Regions from separate parts of the Homo sapiens genome. Here regions 2, 3, 4, 5, 6 and 7 are each linked to region 1. The links are contacts of gene promoters, found by promoter capture Hi-C in blood cells and fetal thymus (Javierre and others, 2016). All regions are on one chromosome and are shown on one strand. Each heading gives the region's core, a stretch centred on a gene start or on the middle of the fragment in contact. The rest is flanking DNA. Distances are from core to core; before and after follow the strand shown.

Region 1 (2,700 bases), core at 182-2,681:
TTTATCTTGTGTGGGTTAATCTCCTGGGTCTGTGTTGTGGTCATCAAACTATGCTAACAGTGCTTGTGAAAGTGGGATTCAAATTCCACAAACACACACATCCACATAATATCTTCCTATATTGCAGGTTGACTCATTTAGAAACATGTTCTTTAAGAAAAGTTTCAGGTATATTACATACATATTTAGCATTATTGTAAAATTATTACATTATTATTGGGTATTTTCAGATAATACGTTTCTGATTGGGTGGTTTGGGGTGGTGGTTGTTTCAAAATTATTTTAAATACCGTAACCTATCTTTTAGTGCTCACGATGAGGGAAACTACGATGTTTATAAAATGGCAGTTTCTTGTTCATCTGAATAAAGACATCTACCAAGGGCAAACTGTAAGAAGCACTGTGGTGTACCTTGGGTTACTTTTTGAATTGCTTTCACACCTGCTTAATTTTATTTGAACAAGATCATAAAACAAAACAAAAATCTCACAGTTCTCAATGCATTCCCTTATCTAGTTGTGATATTACATTCCTTACCATAAACAGTAGCAAACATGTTCTTGTGCAACGTGAAAAAGTAAATGATGTCAGTATTTATTTGCAATACATTGCAGTACACTGAAGTACAGTCAAAACAGAAGGGGGTGTATTAGTAATTTCTCTGACACATTACTTTGGCTCAGATAAAACATTCCGCCTTTGCCTTCAGTAGCCAACTTAGCATTACCGTTTTGATTATATGCAGGCACTTTTTCAAAAAACAGTAAATCAGCATGCTATTTTGTTCGCTGCAGCACTAGGCATCTAATTTACTGAGATTTGGCCACAAGGTGCAATCCTGTTGTTTTCTGGGAGCCCGATTGTAGTAACAGCATGTCCCTTCCAGCCTCTTATTATGGACCCTCCTTGAGGTCAGGAAAGGTCTAAGCTTTACCGCAGTCCCCAGCGTTTGATGCGACCCCGGGATCACGTGGGGAGCTTTAAGAACCCTTCCTAAGAAAGTGACTGATTGATGGCGGGGGAGGGGGTGGGCGCGGGCTTAGTTCCGGGAAAAGGCTGGGGCCCTCGTTGGGAGTGTACAGAAAGATGACTTGAAGAACGTGGGGAGTCGCTCGCAGTTCGGTACGGAGGGGCGGTGGCCGGGGCTGCTGGGTACAAGGGACCGGCAGCGCGCGGAACACCCGCCCCTAATTCCCGCTCCCGTGCGCGCTCCGCCCCCACGCGCGCGCTCCCTCCCGTCAGGCGCGCAGAGAGGCGGGGCGCAGCGCGCACGGAGGTAACAAGGGACGCGGCGGGAAGAGGGCGTGCGCTCCGCCCCGCCCCTTTCGCGGCCTCGCACGCCCCGCCCCCACTCCCTGCGCGTGCTGGGAGCCGGCTGGCAAGGCGTGCGGTGGGCGGGGCGCCGCGCTGACGTTGCCCGGGATGCGGACAGGTTCCGCCGCCTCCAGCGCCGCCGCCGCAGCTGCCGCCGCCGCCGCCTCCGCCTCGCCTGCCACCGGGGTTTGTATGAAAACACCGGGCGGCGGGCGGCGAGGGATCCGCCGTGATCCAGGTGCTGAGCCGGGTGCTGCGGCTCTGCGCGGTCCCCGCCAGCGCCCCATCCTGAGCCGGTGAGCGCCCTGCTGCAGTCCTCATGTCCCGGCCGGCCGTCCCTCTGCTCTCCCCGGGCCGCGGGAGATGCGAGCGACGGCGCCCGGGGGTAGGAGGGGCGACCCCGGATCCCTGCGCCCCTTACCTGACGGGTTGTGTAACGCATGTTACACATGTGACGCGTGAGGGGAACGCACTCGGTCTTGAGGGAAAGCCCTGACGGGGTGGGGCTTTGACTGGGTCTGGAAAACGCCTTCCCCAGTCCCCGGACCCTCGGTGGATCCCCGTCCCAGACCTTGCGGAGGGTATCGGGCGCGGTCTCTGGGCGGAGGCCGCCCTTTCTGCTCAGCCCTTTCTCTCGGGCCCGAGCTCGCGGCGCCGCGGGGAGTCCAGCCGAGGGGCTGCAGGGCCGGGGGCGGGCGCGCCCAGCCCCGCTCTCCCCCGCCCCAGTGGTAGCGGGCCGCTGAATCGCGGGCCCCTGTGCTTCGAGAATTCTAGCGTTCCCGACTGAGCGCCAGCAAGGTGGGATTTGCTGTGACATCGGCGATGGGCACGTTTGCTTCCTCTCGCTGGGTGGTTTGAGCTGAAGTGTGTCTTCTGTTTACAACTTGTCGCCTTGAGCGTTTGGTTTGAACCTGAATCAGATCACCCTGGATGACAGTGCAGAGTTTCCTTAGTGTCTTCCTTCCTGAATTGCGGGTTCTCAATTGCAAGTGTTCAAGGACTGTTGTAACCCAAAGGCTTGCTCGACTCTACCGTTGTTTTACCCCTTGTGCGGTATAAACCTCTTACGAGCACCAGGGCAATTGGAGTTGGTTGGGTTCCTTTCTTGGGCGTTTACTCATTGTAGAATGGAGTTTTCATGCATCATAGTGTAATCGATGTGAATGTTGATAATTTAAAGCCCATTTCCCGTTTTAACATAGCTTACTCAAGTGCCTGAAGATAGCGGAAATTTTCTTTGGCAGTATTAATTCTATGTGGGTTTTTTCCTTCAGGTGTTTAACATTGTAGTTGTGTTTAATTACAATGCATGACAATTTGTAGTTAGAAAGGACCTTAACAGTCTTCTTAATCGGTCATTTTCACTTACCTTTTATGTCCGTTTTT
Region 2 (2,704 bases), core at 184-2,683, 1.8 Mb after region 1:
TTAATAGGCATGGTTTTCACAGAAAGATTCCATTCTATCCCTAAGTCATATCCTATAAATAGGAAACATTCCAAACTCAGTAAGGAGAGAGTAGGAAGAGCTTTCAATGACACTAAGAAAACCAGGAAAATATAAATGCCCTGCAAGCCAATGGACAATTTCAAGGAAGTGCTCAATCTTAAATGCTAAATATGGATAAATCAAGAAGAAAAGGAACAGAAAAATTACACTGTAGTGAGCCATATCTCTTTTCTGCTATGGCTTCATGGGGATTCAGTCTGTCATTTTGTGTATATAAAAAGAAATAAAAATAAGAGATGTCTTACCTCCACAAAATCCATTTCACTTCTATGCATAACTCTTTGAGCACATATGGGAAACTATGTCCTCCCACTAGCGATGTCTATTGTCCATCCACTGCTCTAGGCAACTTTTGCAACTTCCTCTGTTGCCCAGGCTGGAGTGCAGTGGCACGAACACAGCTCACTGCAGCCTCGACCTCTTGGGCTCAAGCGATCCTCTTGCCTCAGGCGCCTAAGAAGCTGAGACTATAGGCACATGCCACCACACCTAGATAATTTTTTTTATTGTTTTTTGTACAGACAGGGTCTCACTATGTTGTTGAGGTTGGTCTCAAACCCCTGAGCTCAAATGATCAGCCCGCCTCGGCCTCCCAAAGTGCTGGGATTACAGGCATGAGCCACCACACCTGGCCGACCCTCCATTTCTTTAATGCTATAGCCTATCATAGAAAATAGAAGATATAGCAATAATCATTCCCAAGAGCTTGACATGTAATTTAGCTAATCAAAAATGATGACTCTCTTGATGACTGGAATAATCTAACTTGGATACTGTTCAAGGGGGGGAAAGTTATATGGACACATCATTGATCATGTCTTCCTCCTTTGTTAACCTTTAAAATGCAAGCTTAGAGGTTATTTAGAGGTCATCACTATCTCTTCAAAAGCCTACCCCTGCAAGGCATAGTAGCTCACGCCTGTAATCCCAGCACTTTGTGAGGCCGAGGCAGGCGGATTACTTGAGCCCAGGAGTTCGAAGCCAACCTGGGCAACACAGCAGACCCCATCTCTACAAAAAAATTAAAAATTAGCTGGGTGCAATGGTACATGCCTGTAGTCCCAGCTACTCAGGAGGATCACTTGAGCTGGGGAGGTCAAGGCTGCAGTGAGCTATGACTGCACCACTGCACTCCAGTCTGTGTGACAGAGTAAGACCCTGTTTCAAATAAATAAATAAAGCCTATGCCTACAGGGTACAGCTTCTGCCAAAGATTTATCTATCTCTATCAGGAGATAGAGACCATCCTGGCTAACATCGTGAAACCCCCGTCTCTACTAAAAAAATACAAAATATTAGCCGGGCATGGTGGCGGGAGCCTGTAATCCCAGCTACTCGGGAGGCTGAGGCAGGAGAGAATGGCCTGAACCCGGGAGGCGGAGGTTGCAGTGAGTGGAGATCGCGCCATTGCACTCCAGCCTAGGCGACAGAGCGAGACTCCGTCTCAAAAAAAAAAAAAAAAACCAAAGTCGGGTGTGGTGGCTCATGCCTGTAATCCCAGCACTTTGGGAGGCCGAGGTGGGCAGATCATGAGGTCAGGAGATCGAGACCATCCTGGCTAACCGGGCATGGTGGCGGCTGATAGAACCGGGGCGGGGGGGCGGCGGGGGGCTGAGGCAGGAGAATGGCGTGAACCCGGGAGGCGGAGCTTGCAGTGAGCCGAGATCGGGCCACTGCACTCTAGCCTGGGCGACAGAGCGAGACTCCATCTCAAACAAAACAAAACCAAAAAACAAACTCAGGTTGCCATCAAAAGGACTGCAGCAATTCCAGGCCTTACATTCAAGGTCAATCAGGTCCAGAGGGAGCCTGAATCACTTCTGAAAATTCTCCTGGAAGAGTGAGGAAAAGCTTTTCTGCAAGCATTCTGCAAATCTTGCAACTCACTGAGGTGAACTGGGAAATATGCATAAACCTAATCCAGTTGCTGGCAAGAGGGTGATATTACCAGTCCTGACTACCCTTGAGTCTGAGGATGCTAAACTAAGCTACAAGGGAGTGCAGTTGAGAGATGGATTCCTAAACAGTATCACAGTATCTATTGGGAAGGAAAAAGCAGGAAAACCATGTTCAGTAGGTGAAGAACTCACTTTTTTTTTTTTTTTTTTTGAGACAGTGGGTTGCCCAGATTGGAGTGCGGTGGTGCCATTTCAGCTCACTGCAACCTCCGCCTCCCAGGCTCAAGGGATCCTCCCACCTCAGCCTCTGGGAGTAGCTGGGACTACAGGCTCCAGCCACCTGGCTAATGTTTTCTTTTTCTTTTTTTTTTTTTGTAGAGACAGGGTTTTGTCATGTTGCCCAGGATGGTCTCGAATTCCTGGGCTCAAGTGATCCTTGGCCTGCTAAAGTGCTGGGATTACAGGCCTGAGTCACCACGGCCAGCCCAACTCATTTTTGTATTCTCAGCATCTTGTAGACACACTTAAAAAAACAAAAACAAAAATCCCAGACACACACAGTTTTGATTTATCTCAAAGTTGAGTGAAGGAGGCATGTTTTATTCTTGTGTATACTACTTTTAGTGCTTAAATACCTTGAACATAGGCAGGAATTTGACTTTTTGGGTGGGAGGGGGAACGGGGGGGGGTCTCACTTTTTCTCACAGTCTGGAGTGCAGTGGCAC
Region 3 (2,752 bases), core at 191-2,690, 1.7 Mb before region 1:
TCCATCTCAAAAAAAAAAAAAAAAAAAAAAAAAGAGCATGATGCATTTTTTTTATAAGCTTTCATCGTCTTATTTAACACAGGATGTGTTTATCCTGGAGCAAGGCCATTAATTAAGTACCTGAAAATAGACAGCAAGATGCCGCTTTGCAAGGACATTATTCAATGGTTATAAACACGCAAATACCCTAATAAAGCATTTGTTAATTGGCACTGAAGGGTTATGCTTTGCCTATTATAAATAGGATGTGACCTCAAAGAGGTCATGTGAGGATCTAGCAATGGAAGTTTTCAATTGGTCCCTTTGCCTTTATGTATATAATTTCCCATTGTCCTGCCTTCCCCTGGAGGTGTCCAAACCAGTATTTACAGGGATGGGGATGTGATCCACCACTTAATTTTAATGGACAAACATATATGAGTTACATTTATGCTTTGGTCCCACGATAAGAAGATATGATTACCTAGGCGGACATTAAGTTTCTTTTCTAACATCACCTCTTGCAGTCTCATGTTTTATTAACAGTTATGACTGCTGAGGTCTTAACTTTCCCTGTTTCATGTTTTCTTCAACAAGACTCCTGTTTAATCCGGCAGGCAGAACATGAGGGGAGACTTCCTTGGAGCTGTCTCCAAAGGTTGTCCCGAGTGACAGAATGCTGTATTTGGTTTGGTTAAAAATTAAATGCCATGTCATTGTCAAAGTGGCAACATGACCTCACCACCTTCACAATGTGGGTGAATCTCTAAAAACTGGTGGTCCCTTAACATTGGTGAACAAGAGAAGTGAAAGGGGAAGTGAAGAAAGTACTACTGGAGTCGTCTTCCTGGGCTAAGAATGGTCACGTGGCCAAGGAAACTTGCAGTGGCCCAGCCACCACAGAAACCACACACTCCTGGGTGCTCTCCTGCCTGGTGTTACTCATGGCTCCAGAGTCCTGGGGGAGAGGGGAGAGAGAGAGATGCACTCTGATATCAGCTATGCTGTAAGAATCTCAGCCCGGAGCGGTGGCTCATGCCTATAATCCCAGGACTTTAGGAGGCCGAGGTGGGTGGATTACTTGAGGTCAGGAGTTTGAGACCAGCCTGGCCAATAGGGTGAAACCCCGTCTCCACTAAAAATACAAAACCGGCTGGGCGCAGTGGCTCACGCCTGTAATCCCAGCACTTTGGGAGGCCGAAGCGGGTGGATCATGAGGTCAGGAGATCGAGACCATCCTGGCTAACACGGTGAAACCCCGTCTCTACTAAAAATACAAAAAATTAGCCAGGCGTGGTGGCGGGCACCTGTAGTCCCAGCTACTCGGGAGGCTGAGGCAGGAGAATGGCGTGAACCCGGGAGGCAGAGCTTGCAGTGAGCCGAGATCCTGCCACTGCATGCCAGCCTGGGCAACAGAGCGAGACTCTATCTCAAAAAAAAAAAAAAAAAAATACAAAACCTAGCTGAGCATGGTGGTACACCCCTGTAATCCCAGCTACTCGGGAGGCTGAGGCAGGAGAATCACTTGAACCCAGGAGGCGGAGGTTGCAGTGAGCCAAGATCATGCCACTGCACTCCAGCCTGGGCAAAAAGCGAGACTCCATCTCAAAAAAATTAAAAAAGAAAAAAGAATCTATCATATTCATCTACAGATAACATTTTTATATATAAACATTCTAGGGGCAGAACTAACAAAATAGAATCATATCTATGCAAAGGCTTTTGTAAAATGTAAGGTATCCCGCATTTGCAAACTGCAGCTAATTACTTACCTTTACTCCTGCCGTCTCCTGTCTTCTCCATCTCCTTAAAGCTGGTAAAACTAGGATACTCCCCCTTCACCTCCTCTCTCACACCCCCACTCCAGCACCAGGCTGGGCTGCACTCCCTGAACTGTGAGTCTGTGACCCGGGCGGTCCTGCTGGGCTTCCAGGGGCTTCCCTGAGCTTCCTGGTTATCAAACTGACCTAGGAGAGGGTGCAGCAGAGCACGGGCCACACGCGACCCCTCTAGCACCCAAAGCCCCCAGGTTGGCTCCTGCTCTGTGTGGGCTGGCCCTTTGACAGCCTCGCCTTCAGTCTTATTTGCATTCTGTTGTGAAGCAAAGATTCATCTTCCAGGCCCTGTTCTCCCCATTGCCCCTGAAATGGGGGTCTTGCCCTGAGCCCTATCTTGGGATGGCAGCTCTGATACTCTTGCCTAGTTTTTCAAAGCCCTGCTCCCAGGAGAGGGAGATGTTTATTTTCCTGGGATGGTGCTGTGGTGTGGCCCCTAACCCAGGTCCCCTTCAGGGATTGCAGGCTTCACTTCCTCAGCTAGCTGTGGGAAGTGCTCTTGGGACAACACCCTTAGCTGTCAGCCCACTGTGGGACTTGCCCCAGCTGAAGAGAGCCTTCTGGCCCAAGGCCAGGTCCCCTAGCTGGAGCAGGCTGCATCCACTGGAGGTGGTCTCCTGAATTTGACACAACTCTGAATGGGTTATCGCAGCTCTAAAGCTCCTGGAGGGGTTGTCTGTAGCCTTCATCATGGCTGCTCCACTTTGCCCTCTGCCAATCCTATCTCCTGTCCTTCCCTTCCTCAAGTATTAATCCCAAGGGCACTCACTAATTAACCTCTTGCACACCAGTCTCCCCCAGACCTTGACCTCCAGATCTTCTGAAATGACAACCTCTGCTTACCTGTGTTCACATCTTCAGAGCCACCTGGATTCCTACCTGGATTGCCCACCTGGTTGGCCACCCACTTTTCAAGTAATTCTTGAAATTAGACCGAG
Region 4 (2,769 bases), core at 249-2,748, 1.8 Mb after region 1:
TCTGAAGTGGCCTTATTTAGTCTTACTTTATCATGGTCTCTGAGTAACCTTTCTGATCCAGTCTCTAAAAAAAAAAAAAAAGAAAGAAAGAAAGAAAAAAACAAAGGGTTGACAAGAAAGGCTTTGGTAGCCACCACATTCCACTTTGGTTTCATCTTACTAGGATTTAGTCACGTGACCACAACTAACTGCCAAGAAGGCTAGGAAAGTGATTATGTCCAACAGAAGACTAACTGGTATAGCTGTGGGTGCCAGGCCAGCTTTTTATCAGGGGCTGCTTTTTTTCCTTTATCAACCTTAAACTTCTCCCTAATTAGCACCAAGGCAAATTAATAGATTTTGTTTCATTCAATTCAGAAATCATGTATTGAGCTTCCTCACAGTGTCCCCTCCCCTGAAGCTGAATGGATAATGGCTTAGTCAGGCTGGCACCCCAGTCTGCCCCAGATGCGGATTTAATGACTGTATATGACCTAGGGGATCAGCTTTGAGGCAACTAGACCTTCCTTTTCCTTGCAACTCTGTGACCCGTCTTTCTCGAGGTGTGCTGTTTTTTGCTTTAGTTTAAAATTTCCAGCTTTTTGGTGGGTGCTATAGTCAAATACAAAACCTAAACAAGTAAGGGAATTGATCTATTCAGGCTATTACAATAGGAAAAGCACTCCAAATCCAAAGATCAGAGTCTCTTGGCAGGGTGGTTTTGCCTTAGACTTTTATAGAGAGGAGTATACAAGTTACAGGTGGAGGACTTACATGTGGGATTGTTTTGCAATCAGAAGTCTCAGTCAGTTGCCAAACAGGAAATATTTATCTCTGTGTCATGCTGGTTTTAGGTGGACAAAGAGTTCTAATAGAGAGACAAAGAATGAGGAATTGGGCTGAGCATGGTGATGCACATCTGTAATCCCACCACTTTGAGAGGCCCACACAGGAGGATTACTTGAGCCCAGGTGTTCAAGACCAGCCTAGGCAACATAGCAAGACCCCGTCTCTACGGAAAAAAAAAAAAAAATTGTAAAAAAGAATGAGGAATTGAAGGGTCTGTGTCTGGTCTTGTCCCACTGGGATGGGATAATCTCATGGGATACCATATACTATGGTGTATGCAGTTCATGGGTGACCAAATCATTGTTATGTGATGCATGCCTGTAATTTGTAAAATTCCTTGCAGGTATACAATTTATTGATTAAACAATTGGAAGTTTGGAGAAATATATTATTGTGCCATTCATCTAAATTTCTCTTTTTTCCATACACTGTGTATCTTTTCCTTTCTTTTATCCCTTTGGGTTAAGGATGTTTTAGTTTTAAATGAAATAAATCAAACTAAAACTAGCATAGTGAAAAAGCAATTGTAGTGATCAACAAAATAAGCCCAGGGATAGAGCTGGCTTTAGCCATGATCATGTAACTAGTTACAGTCTAGGGATTAAAATGCACAAAGACCATACCTCATATTTCTTTTCTTTTCTTTCTTTTTTTTTTGAGATGGAATGTCACTCTTGTTGCCCAAGCTGGAGTGCAATGGTACGATCTTGGCTGAGATCAGGAGAATCACTTGAACCTGGGAGACAGAGGTTGCAGCAAGCTGAGATTGCATCATTGCACTCCAGCACTCCAGCCTGCGCAATAGAGCCAGACTATGTCTCAAAAGAAAAAAAAAAAAGGAAAAGGAAAAGAAAGCACTAATCCAACTTCCTGTCTGGAGACAGGACAAACCTAGGAATTCTCTCCCTTTCTTCGCCATTCCCATTTTGCCACTCTCAAGATAGACTAAGAGTCAGTTGATATAGAATACTAACCTGTATTTGGTTGCAGGAGTAGAATGCAATTATTAAGGCTCAACAGCTTTGTTCCTTTTTTAAAAAAACATAAACATGTTGCTTTGGCCGGGCGTGGTGGCTCACGCCTGTAATCCCAGCACTTTGGGAGGCCGAGGCAGGAGGATCACAAGGTCAGGAGATCAAGACCATCCTGGCTAACACGGTGAAACCTGTCTCTACTAAAAATACAAAAAATTAGCTGGGCGTGGTGGCGGGCACCTGTAGTCCCAGCTACTTGTGAGGTTGAGGCAGGAGAATGGCGTGAACCTGGGAGGCAGAGCTTGCAGTGAGCCGAGATTGCGCCACTGCACTCCAGACTGGGTGACAAAGCGAGACTCCATCTCAAAAAAAAAAAAAGTGTTGCTTTGTTTTTTAGAGGCAGCGTCTCACTCTGTCACCTAAGCTGGAGTGCAGTGGTTTGATCACTGCTCACTGCAGCCTCAACCTCCTGGGCTCAAGCAATTCCCCCACCTCAATCTCCCAAGTAGCTGGGATTACAGGCGTGCACCACCATGCCTGGCTAATTTTTATTTTTTGTAGAGATAGAGTCTCACTAGGTTGCCCAGGCTGGTCTCGAACTCCTGACCTCAAGTAATCCTCCTGCCTCAGCCTCCCAAAGCATGAGCCATTGTGCCCAGCCAAGGCTCAATAACTTTGACGAAGCCTGAGTCAAAGTGAGAAGAAACAAATAGGTCACAATGGTATTTAGAGAGAAGCCTAGAAATACTTTGAGAACCAAAAATAGTATTTTGAAAGCAAGTAAAAAAATATAAAAAAAACTATGAGTTCATAGTTACCCTCCTTCTACCACACACGTGCTCCAAAAAAAGAAACCGTATTGTTTGATTTTGAAGGTTGGTAGGGACCAATTTGTAATTCTGAAAATTGGTAAATAAAAAGGAAAAAAGCATTTATTCTGTTATTCCTGTACTAACTGCATTTCAGG
Region 5 (2,700 bases), core at 122-2,621, 1.8 Mb after region 1:
TGAGTCGAAAGAAATAGGAAAGCAATTGGAAGTTTTAATATAAAATTAGTTTTCCCAGTGAATAAGATGCATTGTAACTTTTCATAAATGTATGCTTTGTGGATGACATTTATCTTTTCAGGGTTTTGGGAATGTGCCGTATAAAACAATTCATTGCTGTGGTGGGACTTAATCCAGTGGCTAAAAGTTATTGTTCTAACTTAGCAAAAAATGAAACCAGGCTCCCTTGAATTTTGTATTTTTTAGGCAGTCATTTGAATTGTGAAACCCTAAAATGAAGAATCAAGTTTTAGAAACAGCTGGTTTTTTGGGTTCAAATCAGTATTCACTGTGATCGGAAACAAATATTCAGTAATAAGAATAAACAAAAGCAAAACTGATTTGTGTTGGTTCTTATAGGCTACTGCAGCACTGGGGTGTCAGTTGTTGGTCCGACCCAGAACGCTTCAGTTCTGCTCTGCAAGGATATATAATAACTGGTACGTTCTAGAAGCAATGTCTTTTTTTTTTTTTTTTTTTTACAGCTTGCTTTCCAATAAGCCAAATGTACTAGCTGCTTTATTTTTCCACAGATTGGTGTGCCCGTTTAATAAAAGAATATGGAAACTGAACAGCCAGAAGAAACCTTCCCTAACACTGAAACCAATGGTGAATTTGGTGAGAAGAAATTTTAGTTTTAACAGTATTTTTTTATCCTGTTAATAAATTGCCTTTTTCTGTTAATTATTGCCTTAGGAGTGTGTGGTGAATTTTTGGTATTACTGTTTATGTAATTCTGCGATTATCAGTAGTTACATCTTAGCTTTTATTTATGAAGTAGAAGTAACTGATTTGCATATAAAGAATTTTTCTTGCATTTTGGGATTTCAAATCCTTTGAAGTATTTTGTGGCAGTATTTTGTGTTTGGTGCATTTTACTAGATGGAAGCATAACGTTCAAGTCTGTAGCAATGCCTTTGGTCTTTTCAAAACATGCCTAAGATTAGCAACAAGTCTCTTGAAACAGAATGGAGTTACTTTGGAGACTTCGCTGCTTTCTTTGAAATGTGAACTGTTAATTTTTAGGTAAACGCCCTGCAGAAGATATGGAAGAGGAACAAGCATTTAAAAGATCTAGAAACACTGATGAGATGGTTGAATTACGCATTCTGCTTCAGAGCAAGGTATAAATTTTATTCTTGAAAATTTGAAGGTGGTTCATACTCAGGTAGAAATTAAGGTCTGGTTTGGCTTTCTAGAAAGTCAAAGTTTTACAGATTGAAGAATATAAAACATTTGGTTCTTTCTAAACAGACTTGAAGGCTCTGGTGGTTTTCTTATTCCACTAACAGTTAAGATTAAAGCCCTTGCTGTAGTGAACCGCCACTACAGGTCAAACTAGGAGGAGAGTGTGATTCTTAAAGTGTTAATAGATTAAATCTTAATTATGTGTGGACTCCTTAGGAAACTGCTTGGTTGGCAGTTTATTGTTTGATCACAGGTCACAATATGAAGGTACCTACTAATACTAAATTAATTGACTTATTTTACCAAAGGGTGCTATAAAATCTGTGCTTAGTTTTATTTTATACTTGGTGTTATTTCTGACATTGAGTACTCCAAACTATCTAGTCCTCACAGCACTTAGAATTATATTTTGATTTTTGGTTTGGTTTTGGCCTGGTCGTTTTTACAACCCCAAATAGATTTTTATTCTTATAACAAACAGGTTAGAGGATTTTTTAGCAAAATCTAAGAGCGTAGGTAGCTATTAATTTTAGGGAAAGGCAAAATAATTTTTTGTCTTTGTATCTTCTCCAGAATGCTGGGGCAGTGATTGGAAAAGGAGGCAAGAATATTAAGGCTCTCCGTACAGACGTAAGTATTAAGAGTTTAAACTACTACACGAGCAGCTTCAGTTTATATGTCTATAGAAATTTAAAGATTTACATCCTAGAAATCATTTCATAGTTTAGCTACAAAGACATTTGTAATAATTTATTATTACAGAATTGATTTCGAAGTTATCCATTCCTGTTTTAACAAAAGCCCAGATTGAGCAGGGTGGGGGGGTGGTTTCTTTCAAACCTCTTCACATTTTAATAAGAGTCCACCAAATTATTCACTTCATCAAGCAAGATAACATCTTAATTAGAAATAGCGACAAAGTGTAAAAATCCTTGATTGCACCATTTCCTGTGTGTGAATCAATTACAGTATTACTGAAAACCATTGCAGGTGGCTGGTTAAATCCAGAAAAATTTTTTTGTTTTCTTTGGGAAGAAAAATGTCCATCTGTTCTTTAACAGCTTGCACATGGAGCACAAAGAATTTAATGTTGAGGTTGCATGATTTAAATATGGGTAAAGAATAGAGTAGGCACTTAATCTTATAATTGGGAAACTGTTCGTCAATGCCTATGATTTGTTTGAGTCTTCATTTTACAGTGGGTTGACTCTTGTGATTAGACACATTAAATGTTGGCAGTGCCAGAAGTGAGCACATTTATAGGACTTGGCTACACCAAAATTTCTAAATTTTTTTTCTCATAGTGTACACATTTCTTAATGTTTTTCTTGCTAAAAATGAGGCAAATAACTTTGTGTCGAGTACTTATTTGACAGTATTTCATTTCTCTCTTGGTCGCAGATCTTTGTATGTTCCTCTTGATTACTGTAAACTGAACTTGAAAATTTGTTTAAAATTTTACAAACTTGCCTG
Region 6 (2,700 bases), core at 26-2,525, 1.8 Mb after region 1:
TTTTGTTAAATTTATTTCTAAGTATTTTATTCTTTTTGATGCTATTGTAAATGGAATTGTTTTTTACATTTATTTTTAAGAGTGTTCTGCCACAGGAAGGGGAACATCACACATTGGGGCTTGTTGTGGGGTGGGGGAAGGGGGGAGGGATAGCATTAGGAGATATACCTAATGTAAATGACAAGTTAATGGGTGCAGCACACCAACATGGCACATGTATACATATGTAACAAACCTGCACGTTGTGCACATGTACCCTAGAACTTAAAGTATAATAAAATATATATATTTAAAAAAAAAAGAGTGTTCTGTCGTGCGCGGTGGCTCACGCCTGTAATCCCAGCCCTTTGGGAGGCCAAGACAGGCGCATCACGAGGTCAGGAGATCGAGACCGTCCTGGCTAACACGGTGAAACCCCATGTCTACTAAAAATAGAAAAAATTAGCCAGGCATAGTGGCGGGTGCCTGTAGTCCCAGCTACTCTGGAGGCTGAGGCAGGAGAATGGTGTGAACCCGGGAGGTGGAGCTTGCAGTGAGCCCAGATCGCGCCACTGCACTCCAGCCTGAGCGACAGAGCGAGACTCCGTCTCAAAAAAAAAAAAAAAAAAAGTGTTCATTGTAAATGTAGTTACCAATTATTTGTTTATATATATTTTTAGCCAGGAAACTACAGCCATCAATTTAAATTTTAATGTATTAATTCTAGCAGAGATCTTCAGAAATAAGTACAACATAATATTTAGAAGTAGAAAAAGCAGTTTTTCTGTTAGTTTTGATTATTTTTGAATACAAATTTAGTTTTAAATTTATGTTGACTTATTGAAATTCTTAAAACTATTTTCATGGATTTATTTCTAATAATTGTGGCAAAGAGGAGATGCTATTTTTCAATGCATAGCTATAAAATCTAGTACTAATGTTTGTTTTTAACACATGTACAGGCTGGGCACGGTGGCTCACGCCTGTAATCCTGGCACTTGGGAGGCCGAGGCGGGCGGGTCACCTGAGGTTCGGAGCTTGAGACCAGCCTGGCCAATATGGTGAAACCCTGTCTCTACTAAAAATACAAAAATTAGCTGGGTGTGGTGGCGGGCGCCTGTAACCCCAGCTACTCGAGAGGCCTGAGGCAGGAGAATCACTTGAACCTGGTAGGCAGAGGTTGCAGAGAGCCGAGATCTCACCACTGCGTTCCAGCCTAGACTCCATCTCAAAAAACAAAAAAACGTGTGTACAGTTCCTTACTTATCTCCTTGCCTTAATTTTCTAACTCCCTGGTTATTTAATATTTAGATTAATGAACTGGGAAACATTATTACTGTAGAAATAAAGGCCCAATGGAATCCCATGTACTTATCACCTAGCTTCATCATTTATCAACTCATGGACCCCACACCTAGATTATTTTGAAGCAAACCCAAGACATACTAGTTTGTCTACAAATTTACGATGTATTTTACAAGACAGGCTTACTCTTTGTAACTGTGTTGTATTGGAACAAAACCTGTTCTAATTGACTTTGCTTTAGAAGGTGGTTAGTTTATTGGGATACAAGGAATCAGTAATTAAAATTTGCTTTTTATTTTTGTTGCACAGGAATCCAGATCTTACATAAGATGGAAGTCTCTCACACTAGATACTGAACATTAAATAGAAAATCTATTTAGTAAAATCTAAGTTGCCATGGAAGAAATACCAGTAAAAGTTGCTGTAAGAATTAGACCTCTGCTTTGCAAAGAAGCTCTTCATAATCATCAAGTTTGTGTGAGAGTTATTCCAAACAGCCAGCAAGTTATCATTGGGAGAGATAGAGTCTTCACTTTTGATTTTGTTTTTGGCAAAAATTCCACTCAAGATGAAGTTTATAACACATGTATAAAGCCCCTAGTGTTGTCACTCATTGAGGGCTATAATGCAACTGTTTTTGCCTATGGACAAACTGGATCTGGGAAGACATACACCATTGGAGGGGGCCATATTGGTAAGATTCTTATACTCTTTGACTTTTATTTGTGACGCTAGAAAGAAGCAAAAATATGACCAATACCTGACACATGGTAGGTGTTTAGCATATTGATTGAATAGTGAAGGAATGAATCATGTAATCAAATGTGATCATAAGATCATCATCTTTGAAAGATTCGTTTTTAAATATTGAAGTTTCATTAAGCAATCTAACTTAGGATTATATTTGCTTGAGGAAAGAAGTTTAAAATAGTTTTCAGTGGTCAGCCCTTGTTATTTTGAACAGAATTTAAAATAGAGATAAATGAGTTAACATGATTAGATTTTGCATTCTTTAACAAGCCAGTTGTAAATATTAAGAGTCCCGCAATCAGGACTTAGGGACCGTAGGAAAAATTTATTATGTAAAGTATCTTTTCTTTTTCATATTCTAGCCAGATTTCTTTTTTAAATTCTGAATATTTTAGGACATAATTTCTCCTGCTTATAATTGTAGTTTGGAAAAGATGGAATCATAGGATCTCATATAGAGCTGAAGGGAACCTTGGAAATCATTTTAGTTAAGTGTCTGGTAATAGAGTGGGGGAATTGACAGCCAAGTCCTCTGTTAAGATTGTTTACTGTATTTATATTTTTCCACTAAAAACAAACTTTTGAGTAGTGCACATATGCATCATTGTCTAAAGTTTTAGTTAGTATTCTCTGTATGAATAGTGGCTCTCAATATTTTTCTATTTT
Region 7 (2,700 bases), core at 137-2,636, 1.9 Mb before region 1:
TGGGATCCTCATGGTCCAGTCAAGTTGACACATGAAGGTAACCATCACAACCCCTCAGATGCCTGGGTGGTGAAGAGGCAAAAATAGTCAGCTCCTAGGGGACACTAGAATTTATGAAGAGCAAATAACCAGGGACCTGTCTAGCCCTGTGAAGGATGTGGCCAGCTCCTAAGGGCCCTCCCGCTCACTCCATCTAAAAGCTGTTCCTAGTGAGATCGCTCAGCTTTCATTTAGGGTCATCATGCAGTTAACAATGTAAAGCTGTATGCCAAGATGCAACTATTAGAAAGCCTACAATTGAAAAACAGTACAGAGCCCCACTGGTGGAGCAATCGGAATTCTCATCCATTGCTGCAGGGACTGTAAAACGGTATGCTCACTTTAGAAGACAGCTTGGCAGTTTCTCATAAAGTTGAACATACATTTACTACACGATCCAGCAATCCCAAGATCTCTAGGTATTTACTGAAGAGAAATAAAAACCTATGCCCACACACAAGTCTGTATGGGAATGTTTGTAGCAGTTTTACTCCTAATTATCAAATACCAGAAACAACCCAAATGGGTGAATGGTTTATAAAAAATCCATACAATGAAATACTACTCAGTAATAAAAACGGACTCACTCTTCATGCACAAATCTCCAATGCATTATGCTGAGTGAAAGAAGCTACTTTCAAACACTTGCATACTGTATGATTCTATTCACTGGACATTTTCAAAACAACAAAACAGTAGTGATATGGTTTGGCTCCGTGCCTCCATCCAAATCTCATGTCGGATTATAATTCCCAATGTTGGAAGAGGGGCCTGGTGGGAGGTGAATGAATCATAGGGGTGAACTTCCCCCTTGCTGATCTCCTGATAGAGTTCTCAGGAGATCTGGTTGTCTCAAAGTGTGTAGCACTTCCCCCTTCTCTCTCTCTTCCTCCTGCCGGTCATGTGAGGATGGCTCTTGCTTCCCCTTTACCTTCTGCCATCATTGTAAGTTTCCTGAGGCCTCCCCAGCCATGCTTCCTGTACAGCCTGCAGAACCATGAGTCAATTGAATCTCTTTTCTTCACAAATTACCCAGTCTCAGGTCTGCCTTTATAGCAGTGTGAGAATGGACTAATACAAACAGTGATGAAGACCAGCTCAGGGCTTGCCAGGGGTTAGGCAGTAGAGGGCAGGCATGAAGGGGTAGTATTAATACAAGGGGTACTGGAGTATGTAGGGGTATGGGAACTGTTCTGAGTCCCAATTAGACTGCTGGTTACATGATTTACATGTGTTAACTTTCATAGAATGACACAACCCTCCTCCAACACTATATTTGCTGTATTATAAATAAAATTTTTACATAATCAAATGGTAAAAAAAAATAATTGTATGCCACCCAATTTAGGCACAGAGTAAATGCACCTAATGGGAACTATCTATGAATTGGGGTCAGACAACAGATGTTGAATGCACAATATGTACACGCAGAGAGGCACAAGAGGGGCAGTGACTCATAGGCATCGCTCAAATATTTTAGTATGAAATGAGGATAAGTGGCATTCTTGAGTCACTGGGCACAACCTGGGAATTATCTGAAAAGGCAGAATAGTTGTGATTTGTTATGTTTCTTTTTCCAGGCACTTTGTATGCACTGTCTTAAGGCAGGAAATGTAGGCTTAAAGACAAGAAAGGATTTGCCCTGGATTTTGATCCCAGTTCTGTCTGGTTCCCCAGCCCCCATCTTCACTCTAGGCTGCTGTCTCCCAGGAGCCACATAAAGCCACAGTGAGGATTACACCATGATTTGTCCTTTTTCCTCTGTTGTACCCTAAGCAAGTCCTTAATCTCCTGGCCCCTTAAAGCTCTGTTCTTCCTTTAAAGCCAGAGTTCTCAGTTACGAGGGTGGGAGGGTACAGGGGAAGCAGGAGATTTTGCCCCCAGGGTACATGTGGCAATGTCTGGATATATTTTTAGTTGTCACAACATGGGGGAAGAGTGCTACTGGAATCTAGTAGGTAGAAGCCAGAGATGCTGCTAAACATTCTACAATGTTTAGGACAGCCTGAAGGAAGAGTGATTCAGCCCAAAATGTCACTTGTGCCAAGATTGAGAACTGCTGATTTGGAAGGGGGGAGAAAGGGAGGAAGGAAGGAGAGAGGAAGGGAGGGAAGGAGAAAAAGGAGGGAGGGAGGGAGGGAGGAAGGAAGGAAAGAAGGAAGGAAGGAGAGAGGGAGGGAGGGAGAGAGAGAGGGAGGAAGGAAGGAAGGAAGGAGAGAGGGAGGGACAGGGAGAGAGAGGGAGGAAGGAAGGAAGGAGAGATGGAGGGAGGGAGAAAAGGAGGGAGAGAGAGAGGGAGGGAGGGAGGGAGGAAGGAAGGAAGGAAGGAAGGGGAGACGGAGGGAGGGAGAGAGGGAGAGAGGGAGGGAGGGGGGAAGGAAGGAAGGAAGGAAGGAGAGAGGGAGGGAGGGAGAGACAGAGGGAGGAAGGAAGGGAAAGAGAGAGAGGAAGGAAGGGAGGGAGGGAGCATATTAATGTCATCTACCAACCAGCACAGTGTTAGGTATTTAAAAATTCTTATCTCATTTATCTCCCCATAAACCATCTGAGATATTATTAACCCCATTTTATGGTTAAGAAATTTGTAGCTGAGACCCATAAAGAAATGTGCCCAAATCCCAGTGATGAGACAAGATGCTGTGGGGACCGCAGGCACCTGGG

Evidence for each region. The method cuts DNA at HindIII sites, captures the fragments that hold promoters and counts their contacts. A CHiCAGO score of 5 or more calls a contact.
Region 2: a contact is called between a fragment that was not itself captured here and the fragment with the promoter of AGTPBP1 in region 1, in 3 of 17 cell types (non-activated CD4 T cells, total B cells and fetal thymus). The highest score is 6.9, in non-activated CD4 T cells.
Region 3: a fragment that was not itself captured here is called in contact with the fragment with the promoter of AGTPBP1 in region 1 in 1 of 17 cell types (monocytes); the score reaches 5.1 in monocytes.
Region 4: a fragment that was not itself captured here is called in contact with the fragment with the promoter of AGTPBP1 in region 1 in 2 of 17 cell types (neutrophils and M0 macrophages); the score reaches 7.5 in neutrophils.
Region 5: a fragment that was not itself captured here is called in contact with the fragment with the promoter of AGTPBP1 in region 1 in 11 of 17 cell types (fetal thymus, total B cells, total CD4 T cells and 8 more); the score reaches 14.4 in fetal thymus.
Region 6: a fragment that was not itself captured here is called in contact with the fragment with the promoter of AGTPBP1 in region 1 in 1 of 17 cell types (naive CD4 T cells); the score reaches 6.1 in naive CD4 T cells.
Region 7: a fragment that was not itself captured here is called in contact with the fragment with the promoter of AGTPBP1 in region 1 in 2 of 17 cell types (monocytes and fetal thymus); the score reaches 7.1 in monocytes.

Annotation. Positions count from the first base shown.
Region 1 is chr9:85,740,685-85,743,384 of GRCh38, reverse strand. AGTPBP1 (ATP/GTP binding carboxypeptidase 1) reads left to right here and starts at 1,431. Exons shown (of 26, transcript NM_001330701.2): 1 at 1,431-1,610. RefSeq lists silencers at 1,108-1,707, 1,778-2,097 and an enhancer at 2,268-2,417. The HindIII fragment of the contact is 1,776 bases long and covers 931-2,700 here.
Region 2 is chr9:83,958,931-83,961,634 of GRCh38, reverse strand. No RefSeq gene overlaps it. Among named protein-coding and RNA genes, the nearest start is that of QNG1, 3.5 kb to the right of the region's middle. The HindIII fragment of the contact is 1,002 bases long and covers 933-1,934 here.
Region 3 is chr9:87,478,036-87,480,787 of GRCh38, reverse strand. No RefSeq gene overlaps it. Among named protein-coding and RNA genes, the nearest start is that of DAPK1, 18 kb to the left of the region's middle. The HindIII fragment of the contact is 2,760 bases long and covers 61-2,752 here.
Region 4 is chr9:83,932,805-83,935,573 of GRCh38, reverse strand. No RefSeq gene overlaps it. Among named protein-coding and RNA genes, the nearest start is that of KIF27, 13 kb to the right of the region's middle. The HindIII fragment of the contact is 7,420 bases long and covers 1-2,769 here.
Region 5 is chr9:83,976,152-83,978,851 of GRCh38, reverse strand. HNRNPK (heterogeneous nuclear ribonucleoprotein K) reads left to right here. Exons shown (of 17, transcript NM_031263.4): 2 at 400-479; 3 at 573-657; 4 at 1,066-1,163; 5 at 1,801-1,857. The coding sequence starts at 600. Among named protein-coding and RNA genes, the nearest start is that of HNRNPK, 2.7 kb to the left of the region's middle. The HindIII fragment of the contact is 3,362 bases long and covers 1-2,700 here.
Region 6 is chr9:83,914,572-83,917,271 of GRCh38, reverse strand. It overlaps KIF27 (kinesin family member 27), which reads left to right. Exons shown (of 18, transcript NM_017576.4): 2 at 1,594-1,978. The coding sequence starts at 1,681. Among named protein-coding and RNA genes, the nearest start is that of KIF27, 5.5 kb to the left of the region's middle. The HindIII fragment of the contact is 6,796 bases long and covers 1-2,700 here.
Region 7 is chr9:87,606,247-87,608,946 of GRCh38, reverse strand. The region is part of intron 3 of DAPK1 (death associated protein kinase 1); the gene reads right to left. Among named protein-coding and RNA genes, the nearest start is that of DAPK1-IT1, 54 kb to the right of the region's middle. The HindIII fragment of the contact is 4,147 bases long and covers 1-2,700 here.